Linked DNA regions of Homo sapiens: region 2 is linked to region 1. The links are contacts of gene promoters, found by promoter capture Hi-C in human tissues and cell types (Jung and others, 2019). All regions are on one chromosome and are shown on one strand. Each heading gives the region's core, a stretch centred on a gene start or on the middle of the fragment in contact. The rest is flanking DNA. Distances are from core to core; before and after follow the strand shown. Region 1 holds the start of MORC3 (MORC family CW-type zinc finger 3). Region 2 overlaps TTC3 (tetratricopeptide repeat domain 3).

Region 1 (5,721 bases), core at 1,807-4,306:
CCCCCCTCTGTTGTTCTTAAACGGACACACTCGTGCATGTTGTTCCACTTGCTCCTGTCTTGGGGTTGATGAGGATGCCTTTTAGCTGTTTTTTTTATTTTTTTATTTTTGAGATAGAGTCTCACTCTGTTGCCCAGGCTGGAGTGCGATCCTCCCACCTCAGCCTCCCGAGCAGTTAGGACTACAGGTGTGCACCACCACGCCCAGAAAATTTTTTAATTTTTTTATTTTTTTTGTGGAGATGGGGTCTCCCCATGTTGCCCAGGCTGGTCTCCTGGGCTCGAGTGATCCGCCCATCTCAGCCTCCCAAAGTGCTGGGGTTACAGGCTTGAGACATGACACCCAGCCCTCTATGTGTTTTTATGGAGGGATTTATGTAGTGGTATTTTTGGGGTGGCTCAAAAACCATGTCCTCACACTATCTTTCCAGAATCCTCTCAACCTTAGGAAAATTTGAAGACATACTCTATTGTACAACAGGTTGTGCAGACCAGTCTGTTGTACAATAGGTTATGTCATCAATTCATCACTATCCTACTGCACTTCATCAATTCATCACTATCCTACTGCACTCTCTGTCTCCAATGCCAGGCTCTAATTACACTTGTCCCATATCAGTTCCTCAAACATGAGCAGCCCTTTCCAAATCTCTAGGCCTCTGCTGTTGTTTTTCTGGAATTGCAGAGTTGTGTCTCCCTCGAATGCTGTCCCTCTGAATTCTTTGGAAATTCCTCTCTATCCTGGTTACTTACTTCTTTGATCGGGCATGGTGGCTCACGACTATAATTCCAGCACTTCGGGAGGCCAAAGAAGGTGGAGCACTTGAGCCCAGGAGTTCAAGGCCAGCATGGGCAACACAGCAAGACCCCTTTCTCTATAAAAAATATTTTAAAAATCAGCTGAGTGTGGTGGCACACACCCGTTGTCCCAACTACTTGGGAGACTAAGGCGGGAGGATTGCTTGAACCCAAGAGTTCAAGGTTGCAGTGAGCTATGATTGTGCCACTGTACTCCAGCCTGGGCAACAGAGTCTCTAGAAAAAGAAAAAAATCCAGGCCAGGCGCGGTGGCTCACGCCTGTAATCCCAGCACTTTGGGAGGCAGAGGCGGGCGGATCACGAGGTCAGGAGATCGAGACCACGGTGAAACCCCGTCTCTACTAAAAATACAAAAAATTAGCTGGGCGCAGTGGCGGGCGCCTGTAGTCCCAGCTACTCGGGAGGCTGAGGCAGGAGAATGGCGTGAACCCGGAAGGCGGAGCTTGCAGTGAGCCGAGATCATTCCACTGCACTCCAGCCTGGGCGACAGAGCGAGACTCGGTCTCCAAAAAAAAAAAAAGAAAAAAAAATCCATTCTCTTTTGTTTCTTTTTCCTTTTTGAGACGAGAGTCTCGCTCTGTTGCCCAGACTGAGTGCAGTGGTGAGAACATGGCTCATTACAGCCTCAGTCTCCCAGGGTCAAGTAGTCCTCCCCACCTCAGCCTCCCAAGTAGCTGGAACCACAGGCGTGCGCCCCCAAGCACAATTAATTTTTTTTTTTTTTTGAGATGGAGTTTCGCTCTTGTTGTCCCGGCTGGAGTGCAGTGGTGTGATCTTGGCTCACCGCAACCTCCACCTCCTGGGTTCAAGTGATTCTCCTGCCTCAGCCTCTCCAGTAGCTGGGATTACGGGCATGTGCCACCACACCCGGCTAATTTTGTATTTTTAGTAGAGATGGGGTTTCGCCATGTTGGTCAGGCTGGTCTCAAACACCCGACCTCAAGTGATCTGCCCGCCTTAGCCTCCCAAGGTGCTGGGATTACAGGTGTGAGCCACCACGCCCTGCCAGCTAATTCAATTTTTTTTTTGTAAAGATGAGGTCTCCTCGTGTTGCCCAGGCTCGTCTCGAACTCCTGGGTTCAAGAGACCCTCGCAATGTAGCCTCTCAAAGTGCTGAGATTACAGACATGAGCCACTGCACCCAGCCAATTTCTCTTTCTAAAAATAATTAATTTTTTTGAGACAGTCTCACTCTGTCGCCCAGGCTGGAGTACAGTGGCGCGATCTGGGCTCACTGCAACCTCCTTGTCCTGGGTTCACCCACTTCTCCTGCCTCAGCCCCCCGAGTAGCTGGGATTACAGGCGCCCACTAATATGCCCAGCTAATTTTTGTATTTTTAGTAGAGATGGGGTTTCACCATGTTGGCCAGGCTGGTCTTGAACCCCTATCAAGTGAACCCCCAACCTCGACCTCCCAATGTGTTGGGATTATAGGCATGAGCCACTGCACCGGCCTTATGCCTTTAGGACTCTTATTTATTTATTTTGAGACGGAGTTTCACTCTTGTTGCCCAGGGTGGAGTGCAATGGCGCAATCTCGGCTCATTGCAACCTCCGCCTCCTGGGTTCAAGCATTCTCCTGCTTCAGCCTTCCGAGTAGCTGGGATTACAGGCATGTACCACCACGCCCGGCTAATTTTGTATTTTTAGTAGAGATGGGATTTCTCCATGTTGGTCAGGCTGGTCTCGAACTCCCGAAGTCAGGTGATCCGCCCGCCCACCTCGGCCTCCCAAAGTGCTGGGATTACAAGCGTGAGCTACCGCGCCCGGCCCCAGAACTCTTTTTTTTTTTTTTAAATCATGAGTTAGATTGATAGTTTTCAGGGCAAATCCAAACAGTCTACATTAATTTCCGTCTTTATTTCGTTAAGGTTTCACATGGACACTGGTGGATATGGAATGGCTTTTTTCTGCGCAATTCACATCCGACCAGGTCAAGTGACTGGAGTTCACCGGTCTCGGGTATACCGCATCTCGCGCCAGGCTTCAAACTCTAGATCCCCGAGTCTCGAGCTCCAGCTGGGTGTCGAGACGGGTACGGGCCGGCCGCGCCTCGCGCATGCGCCCTAGGCCCGCAGGGCCCCGCGCTGGAAGCTCAGCTCCCACTGTACCCTGCTTTAACCAGTCAGGCAATTCATCTTCCCCAAGCTCCCAATTCGGCATTGCCTGGAGGCGGAAGTGGGTGGGAGGGGCCAGACGTGCGCCCCTCCCCGGAAGTGGGCGGTACCCATAGGGCTCCACAGTCGTTCCGCCACCTCCCAGTCGGGTTGCGGCGGAGGCCGTTCCTGGCTTTGTAGCTCGCTCAAGATGGCGGCGCAGCCACCCCGCGGGATACGCCTCAGCGCGGTGAGCAGCCGCGAGGGGTGGAGCGGGCCGTGTCCCAGGAGGGCGGGCGGGCAAGCGAAGGGGGGCCGGCAGTGGGCGGTGGCGGCTTGTGGGGCCGACGCGGCGGCGGGGGCTGCGGCGGGGCCCGGGGAGGGGGCGGCCATCTCGCTCCCGTCGGCGGAACAGCTCGGCTGCGGGCCGGGCTGCGTTCCGTCGCCTCTGCATTGTGTTTCTGTTTTGCTTCGGGGCGGGCCAGGGTCGCGGCTCCTCCTCCCAGCTCCCTCCTAGTCTCCCAGCAGCTGTCGTCCGCGGGCGAGGCCTCGGCGGGAGATCGGTCTGCTCTCGGGGCCGCGGGGCCCCTGACCCTCTTCTGTCCGCTGGGCGTCGTGGTGGGAGGGAGCGGGTTCCGCGTCCAGAAACGCCGGCGGCCTCGACGTCCCGGGGGCGGGGGGACGGGGCTGCGGGCCTGCCTGCGGGCGAGTGGAGTCAGGATGAGTGTGCCTGATGCCTGTCAGTGCCTGCAGCTTCCTTGGCAGTGGAAGCCTTGGGGCCCAGACCCTAGATCGCTGAGCTCGAGCTCTCCTCTTTATCCCGCGTTGCGTCTGTTTTGGGGCGTTTCGAGTTCTTGGAAACCCTGTGAACATTTCTTGTATCTTAAATCGTAGGGAGCGGTCACACAAGATAACTTGAAATCTCACGTCCAGGAAATGTGGGCGTGGCTTCCCCACCTGATTATCCTAAAAAACTTTTCTACCTTGTGAGCGCAGTTGATGTTATGCTGAAATGTTCCTCTTTTCTGGAGGTTGTTGACTTTTGCCAAAGAATGACTGCCCTAGTGCCACTAATTTTAACATTCGAATGGGTAGTGACTCCTTGGGGTACAAACACGTAGTGAATAATTGGTGCATTGCTCTGGGACTTTCATTCGTTTAGGCAGATTCTAACACCTGGTTTTGACGGACTTTAAATTTTTTCTAGTCCGATATTTGTGAAATGATATTTGCTTTTACTTGCGTTTCCTTGACTGTTTGTGTTGTTGAGCTCTTCGCATGTATTAGTCTTTGTGGTTTTTTGTTTTGTTTTTTTGAATTGCCTATTCATATCCTTTGACCATTTTCTGTTTTTCTTTTGGGAGGATCTTTATTGATTTGTAAGAGTTCTTTACGTATTCTGGATAAAGGTCCATCCTTTCGTTATGTAACTAGCTTATTGAGTGAGCTAGGCTTTAGTAGTTTGAAAATAGAGGACAATTTTATTCTTTTTTTCTTTTTTTTTTTTTTAACCACTGAGTGTAAACATTAATTATTCCCCACTTGTGTGAATCTGGGTTGACTAACGCTTTCCCATTAGCTTAAGGTATTGTAAAGTCTGGCCTTACCTAGTTTAAAATCTCTATTCTCTCTCCCTCCCTTTTCCCCCTCTCTTTCCCCTATCTCCTTTCCCCACTTCTCTCTCCTTCCTCTCTCGAGGTTGAGTCTTGTTCAGGCCCAGAAACCTGTAGTGGAGAAACGGAGTGAGTTGATTTCCTGTTTCTGTCCTTTGATTCTCTTCTCCCTTCCCGCCCCCAGGCCCTTGTAGACTCTGGCTCTTCAAGATTGAGGGGAGAAAGGAAGCAGAGATAATGGTCAGTGTTTAGAGACCAGCATTGTTAGCGGGCACTCTGGGTGTAGCTGCTGTCCATGTGCTGGGTCTTTGTTTTGTGGGTAATATGGGCTGTTGGGAACCTGACTGACAGAAATCTCCCATCTGCAGCCTCTTTGCTTTTGCTTTAGGTCAGGAGTTGGCAAACTACATACAGCTCATGGGCCAAATCCAGCCCAGCACCTGTTTTTGTGTGGCCTGAAGGCTAAGAGTGATTTATACATTTGTAAATGGTTGAGAAAAAAAGAAGAATGTTTAGTGACATAAAAATTATGCGAAATACAAATTTCAGTTTCCATAAAATTTTATTGGAATATAGCCAGAAACATTATTTGCTTATAGTTTTCAAATGCATGCGTTAAGAGATAAAAATTAATGAGCTTATGTATTTGTCAAAAGTCCTACATTTTAAGGCACAAAGGGTGAACCCTTAGTGTATACACTTTTTTATTTTATTTTATTTTTTTGAGGTAGAGTTTCACTCAGTCTCCAGGCTGGAGTGCAGTGGCACGATCTCGGCTCACTGCAGCCTCCACCTCCCGGATTCAAGCACTTCTTCTGCCTCAGCCTCCCGAGTAGCTGGGTTTACACGCGTGGGCCACCACACCCGGCTAATTTTGGTATTTTTAGTATATATAGAGTTTCACCATGTTGGCCAGGCTGGTCTCAAATTCCCAACCTCAGGTGATCCTCCTGCCTTGGCCTCCTAAAGCACTGCGATTACAGGCCTGAGCCACTGTGCCCGGCCCAATGTATACACATTTTAAACAGTCATTTAGGAGGTCGGAGATCCCAGGATGAAATGCAGAGTGACAAAAAGTTTTTAAATTTTTTGCTTTTTACCCCTGTAATTCTAGTGAAATGAAATGCATATACTTTGGTTTTTGTTGTTGATTTTTTTTTTCAGAAATGCTGCTGTGGATTTAGCTGATGCACAC
Region 2 (5,721 bases), core at 2,161-4,660, 760 kb after region 1:
TTAAATTTTCAAATGTGTCTATATTGTTTTCCTTTAATTATCGATTTCTTACTTGTGTTGCCAGAGAATATTTTATCTTTTTAGCATTTTTTTTTTTTTGCCCTTGCTTTATGGCCTTGTACATAGTGAATTATTAGAACTGTTCTGTGTACACTTGTGAAGAGTATATATTCTGTAATTGTTAAGTGTCTATTAGGTAAAGCTTGTTATTTGTGTTGTTCTGATAGTCTTTATCCTTATTAATTTTGGTTTATCCTATCATTAACTGAGAGAAGTGTGTTGCAATATTCCACCATTACTAGTTTCTAACAGATTTCCTGTAGTTCTAACAATTTTTGTTCTTCTGTATTTTGAGACTTTTATTAGCTACATGCAAGCTTAACATTTTTTTCCTAGTGGCTCGAACCTTTACTATATTGTGATCTTCTCTAAGTTTGCTTCTTTGTCTTAGAGGCTTTTTGTCTGATCCCGTCTTTCTTTTGGTGCTAATTTACCTGGAATATTCTTTTCTTTCATTTTACTTTGATTTTTTTTAGTGTCCTTACATTTTAAGTGTCTCTTATAAGGGACATACTACTGGATTTTTCTTTTAATCTCACCAGACAACTTCTGTCTTTTAATTGGTTATGTTCCAGGTGTCTTGGTTGGTGTTTGACTCAGTTTTAGATATTAAAAAAAATCTAAAAGTATTTTTATTTTACCTTTGTTCTTGACAGATCATTTTGATGGATGTACAATTGTAGGTTGGTGTTTCTTTTCTGTCAGTAGGGTAGGAATACTATTCTGCTGTTGCTTATACAAAGTGTGCTGCCAGTTTTATTTATGCCTTTTTTTTTTTTTTTTTTTTTTTTTTTGAGGTGGAGTCTTGCTGTGTTGTTAGGCTGGAGTGCAGTGGCGCCATCTTGGCTCATTGCAACCTCCGCCTCCTGGATTCAAGCGATTCTCCTGCCTCAGACTCCCAAGTAGCTGGGACTACAGGCACCTGCCACCATGCCTGGCCAATTTTTGTATTTTTAGTAGAGATGGGGTTTCACCATGTTGGCCAGGATGGTCTTGATCTCTTGACCTCGTGATCTGTCCGCCTCAGCCTCCCAAAGTGCTGGGATTACAGGCGTGAGCCACTGCACCCAGCCTATTTATGCGTTTTTTGAAGAAAATATCATTTTTCTTTTAGTTACATTGGATTTTCTGTCTTTTGTGTTACATCATTTCACTTCTAAGTCTAGATAGAGATTATATTTATCCTATTTTGGATGCATGTGTTTCATGATTCTGCATTTTGTCTTTCATGAGATCTAGAAGTTTCTGAGCCCTGTATTCTTTAAATATTATGTCTCATTAGTCTCTTCTCTCCTGCTGGAACTTTAACTGGATATATATATACACTAAACTGTTTCCAGATCACTTATTCTTTATCTTTCATATTTTTTATCTCTTTGTTTCTCTTTACCAGAATTTACAGTGCTGGATAATTTCATAAGGCATATATTTTAGTTCACCAATTTTCTCTTCAACTGTGCCTAATATCCTCTGTAACCCATCCTGTCTCTTTTTTTTCTTTTAACAATTGCATTTTTAATTACTTTTTTTTTTTTTTTTTAAGATGGAGTCTCTCTCTGTCGCCCAGGCTGGAGTGCAGAGGCGCGATCTCAGCTCACTGCAAGCTCCGCCTCCCGGGTTCACGCCATTCTCCTGCCTCAGCCTCCCGAGTAGCTGGGACTACAGGCGCCCGCCACCACGCCCGGCTAATTTTTTTGTATTTTTAGTAGAGACGGGGTTTCACCGTGTTACCCAGGATGGTCTCGATCTCCTGACCTCGTCATCTGCTCACGTTGGCCTCCCAGAGTGCTGGGATTACAGGCATGAGCCACCATGCCCGGCCGCATTTTTAATTTCTAAAAGTTCTGCCTGGTTCTTTTTTGATATGTCCAGTCATTCTTCATGTTCTCATGTTATATGCTGATTTTTGTGACTCTATAGCTATTCTGTAGACTATATCAGACATTCCCAATGTCTGATATCCTTGAGGAGGGGGATGTCTAAATTTATTGCTTTTTTGTTTTTTTTTCTGTTGTCTCTCCTCAATGTAGCTGTCACCTCATGTGTTTGGTGATCATTGATTATGAACTTCTGTTTGATCTTTGTGGTGATCTTGAGAGTCTAATTTGAGGATGCTTGCTTTCTGAAAGCATTTCTATCAGCTTTGTCTGGGAGCCAGAAAGTTTAGCTGGCATCACTTTTGAGTTCCTACATTTTGCTTCTGGCCCAGGGCTCAGTGTCCTGATCCTATTACTGCTCTTGGCACCACTACTTGTAGCACTAAACTGTAGCCAGGTTTAATTTCTAGCTCAAGGTTTGTTGCTTTTGCGTGGAGAGGGTGCCTTCACATGTTCCCCTATTTCTATGAGCTCAGCAAAAACATCCAAAAAGTGTTTTTTTTTTTAATCTAGGATATACCTTTTTCCTCCCAACAGTACATTCCCCCAGAGTGTATAGTTGACCATAACTGATGGGATCAGAAGCTCTTTATTTTAATATTTAATTTTAGTAGTATATTTTTGTTTGATTGTATTATAAAAAATTTTATGGTACCAAGCAAGCTTTCTTGGTGATACCAACATTTCCATTAAAACTAGTTTACATCTAAGTTAAGATTTGAGTTATCCTAAAGAAAAGTATTAAGTAAATAGCAGTACAGATGGCAAATGGATTGCACAATATATCCTCTGGATCCATAGTGACCCTGCAGAGATAAACCTGTGATGGTCAAACAATGTGAAAACTGCTGTCAGAGACATGGGCAGGGTGCTCTTGTTTACAGAGAAGAGGTGCAAAAATCAACTTGATGGTAGTGGGAAGATCAGGAAATGCTTCCTGAAATTGAGTATTAAGAACTAATAGACATTAGGTGGTTGCAGAATAAGTTTTGTTTAGGAAGGACAAGCAGTTGGGTATGACTGGCTTCTAGGTTGTGTGTTGTGGAGTGACTGGGGATAAAAGCAGGAGCAAGATCACAAAAGGTCTTCTATGCTTATATTAGGGAAGTTGGACTTTATTCTCAAGCTGAAGGGAAGCTGTTGCATGGTTTTAAGCAGTAAAGTGATATGATCAGAGTTTTAGAGGATGCCAAGATTGAAGGCAAGTCTGACCAGTTAGGAGACTGCTTGTTAAATTAGTTCAGAGGAGAAACAGTGAAGGCAGTGGCACTGGGCATGAAGAAGTATATGTGTGCTAATTTTAGATTTCTTAGGGAAGCAGAAATGACAAGAGTTAGTGGTCCATTGGACAGAAATATTGAAGGAGACTGGGGAGTCTAGGTTGACTCCCAGGGTTTAGGTTTGGGCAGTAAAATGACATGTAGAACAATTAACTGATAAACAGCATACAGAAAGAGGAAAGAACTTCATTTCATATGTTTGTTTTTGAGGAAAAGATGTTTGTTTTTGAACTTCCTGATTCAGAGGGGCTTGTGGGACATCTTGGTTAAGATCCTGTAGTAGTTCTAGTAGGGTCTAGAAGTCAAGAGATACAACCCCGCCTGGAAGGATTTGGGAGTCTTCAGCATTTGGAATTTTGGAAGCCATTGTTTACTGCAGTGCATATGAGATAATTTAAACTGGTACATAGATAAACACTTGAAAAAATTTTAATAGATAGGAATTTAATGTGTATGAGAAACATAACTTGCACATCTAACCTTTGATAATCATGGACATTATCACTTAGGCCAAGTGAGCTCAATAAAAGGGAAATATTAACTAAAAATATATGTGATACATGGAAATGGCAAAAATCACGGTGAAGCTATGCAAACGATGCAAGTTCAGAAAGTGCTGTGTTAAGTCATGGGTGTGGTGGATAAATTCACCCAAGGAGAGAGTAAGAGTGAGAAGAAAAGAGAGTTGACATTGGGTGGCGGGGAATGGAGAAGAAGAACCCATGAAGGAAACTGAGGAAGAGCAGCCAGACGAATAGGAGGAAAACCAGGAGAAGATGGTCTTTGGAGTCCAAATGAAGAGTTCTGAGGAGGAAGTGGTCCACAGCGTCAAGTAAGTTGTAAGCTGAAAAGTGCTCTTTGGATTTAGCAATTAAGGTAGACTATTTAGCTGGAAGCATCCAAACAGTGGATTTTAAAAATACTCATCTAACATTAATGTTAATGATAGCTGGTATTTATAGCATTTCCCATATACCTGGTACTCTTCTAAGCTCTTTACATGTATTAACAGATTGATCAGGTAGGTAGTATCGTTATCCCCATTTGATATGCGAGGAAACACAGAGGAAGCACAGAGAGGTTAAGTAACTTGCCCAAGATCACACACCCAAGGAAACAAGAGAGCCAGGACTCAAGCCCAGAGTCTTGGCTGCAGAGTCCCTGTTCTTAACCACTTTGTCACATTGCCTCTCTAGTTAAAAACAAAATACAAGGCCGGGTGCGGTGGCTCACGCCTGTAATCCCAGCACTTTGGGAGGCCGAGGCGGGCGGATCACAAGGTCAGGAGTTCAAGACCAGCCTGGCCAATATGGTGAAATCCTGTCTCTACTAAAAATACAAAAATTAGCTGGGCGTGGTGGTGGGCACCTGTAGTCCCAGCTACTTGGGAGGCTGAGGCAGGAGAATCGCTTGAACCCGGGAAGTGGAGGTTGCAGTGAGCCGAGATCGTGCCAGTGCACTCCAGCCTGGGCGACAGAGTGAGACTGTGTCTCAAACAAACAAACAAACAAACCAAAACAAAATAGAAAATAAAATATACCCCAGTGTCGTAATTACAGTACAATTGGTGCTGTGTGTGTTATCAGTGAGATTCGCTAGGCTTGAATGACCAGTATCAGTCTGCCAGGTATGAGCACATTAATTGTATTGTAATTGATGCCATGATGTGTGGGCTGTGACAGTTCTTGGCTCTTTCTGTATTTTATGCCAAAAAAATTTGTAAGACAAGTGAGATTAGCATATACCTCATATTATGTGCTATAGTTTGGGTGCTCCAGTATCTTATGTTTTCTGGTCATTGTTCACTTTTAGAGTTAAATTTTTTAAACTCTAGAAATATTCATGCAGAATAGGTCAGGTTCTAGACATTATAGATAACCAGTCTTTTGTGGAAGGTCATTAATGATCCTAATGAAAGCAGTTTCCCTTGAATGGTCGAAGTGGAAACCAAATTGTTAGGAAACTGACAGTGAATGAGAATGGAGGATTCAGATGGGTGAAAAATGAAGAGTTCTTGATGAAGTTGAAGAATGGCTGTGGTAGGAAATCAGGAAGACATGAGCCGTAATGACTCTTGGCTATGGTCAGAGAGGAGCTAATAAAGATTTAAGAACTGGTTTCGACCCAGGTAGTGATCTGAGGTGTCCCCCTGGGGTGGGAGAGCCTAGTGAGGTAGGCAGTGAAGATCATGTTAGTTGAGGAGGTTGTTAAACTACAAGGCTAGGGTATTGTGTGCATGGACCTCGATGTGGCTGGGATGATGATAGAATTTGGAGGAAAGAGAAAAACACTGAACTAGTTGCCAGTGATCTTGAAACGTGACAGTAACCAAGAGATAAATAGGTGACAATGACAGGAAAATTAGATGTAGTAAAAGAGAGTGTTTGAGAGCAGAAGCTATGGCAACTAAAGACTGGATTTGAATCCTTCCTAGCTTGGTGACATGAGCAAATTACTTGATTTAAGTGAGCATTTTCCCATCTGTACAGTGGAGATAACGATAA

What was found. Contacts are between HindIII fragments. The study calls those that stand out against the background at their distance.
Region 2: a fragment that was not itself captured here is called in contact with the fragment with the promoter of MORC3 in region 1 in 1 of the 25 tissues and cell types used here (dorsolateral prefrontal cortex).

The regions. Positions count from the first base shown.
Region 1 is chr21:36,317,141-36,322,861 of GRCh38, forward strand. MORC3 (MORC family CW-type zinc finger 3) reads left to right here and starts at 3,057. Exons shown (of 17, transcript NM_015358.3): 1 at 3,057-3,163. The coding sequence starts at 3,125. RefSeq lists a silencer at 3,181-3,640. The HindIII fragment of the contact is 28,282 bases long and covers 1-5,721 here.
Region 2 is chr21:37,080,283-37,086,003 of GRCh38, forward strand. The region is part of intron 1 of TTC3 (tetratricopeptide repeat domain 3); the gene reads left to right. Among named protein-coding and RNA genes, the nearest start is that of TTC3, 9.9 kb to the left of the region's middle. The HindIII fragment of the contact is 7,551 bases long and covers 1-5,721 here.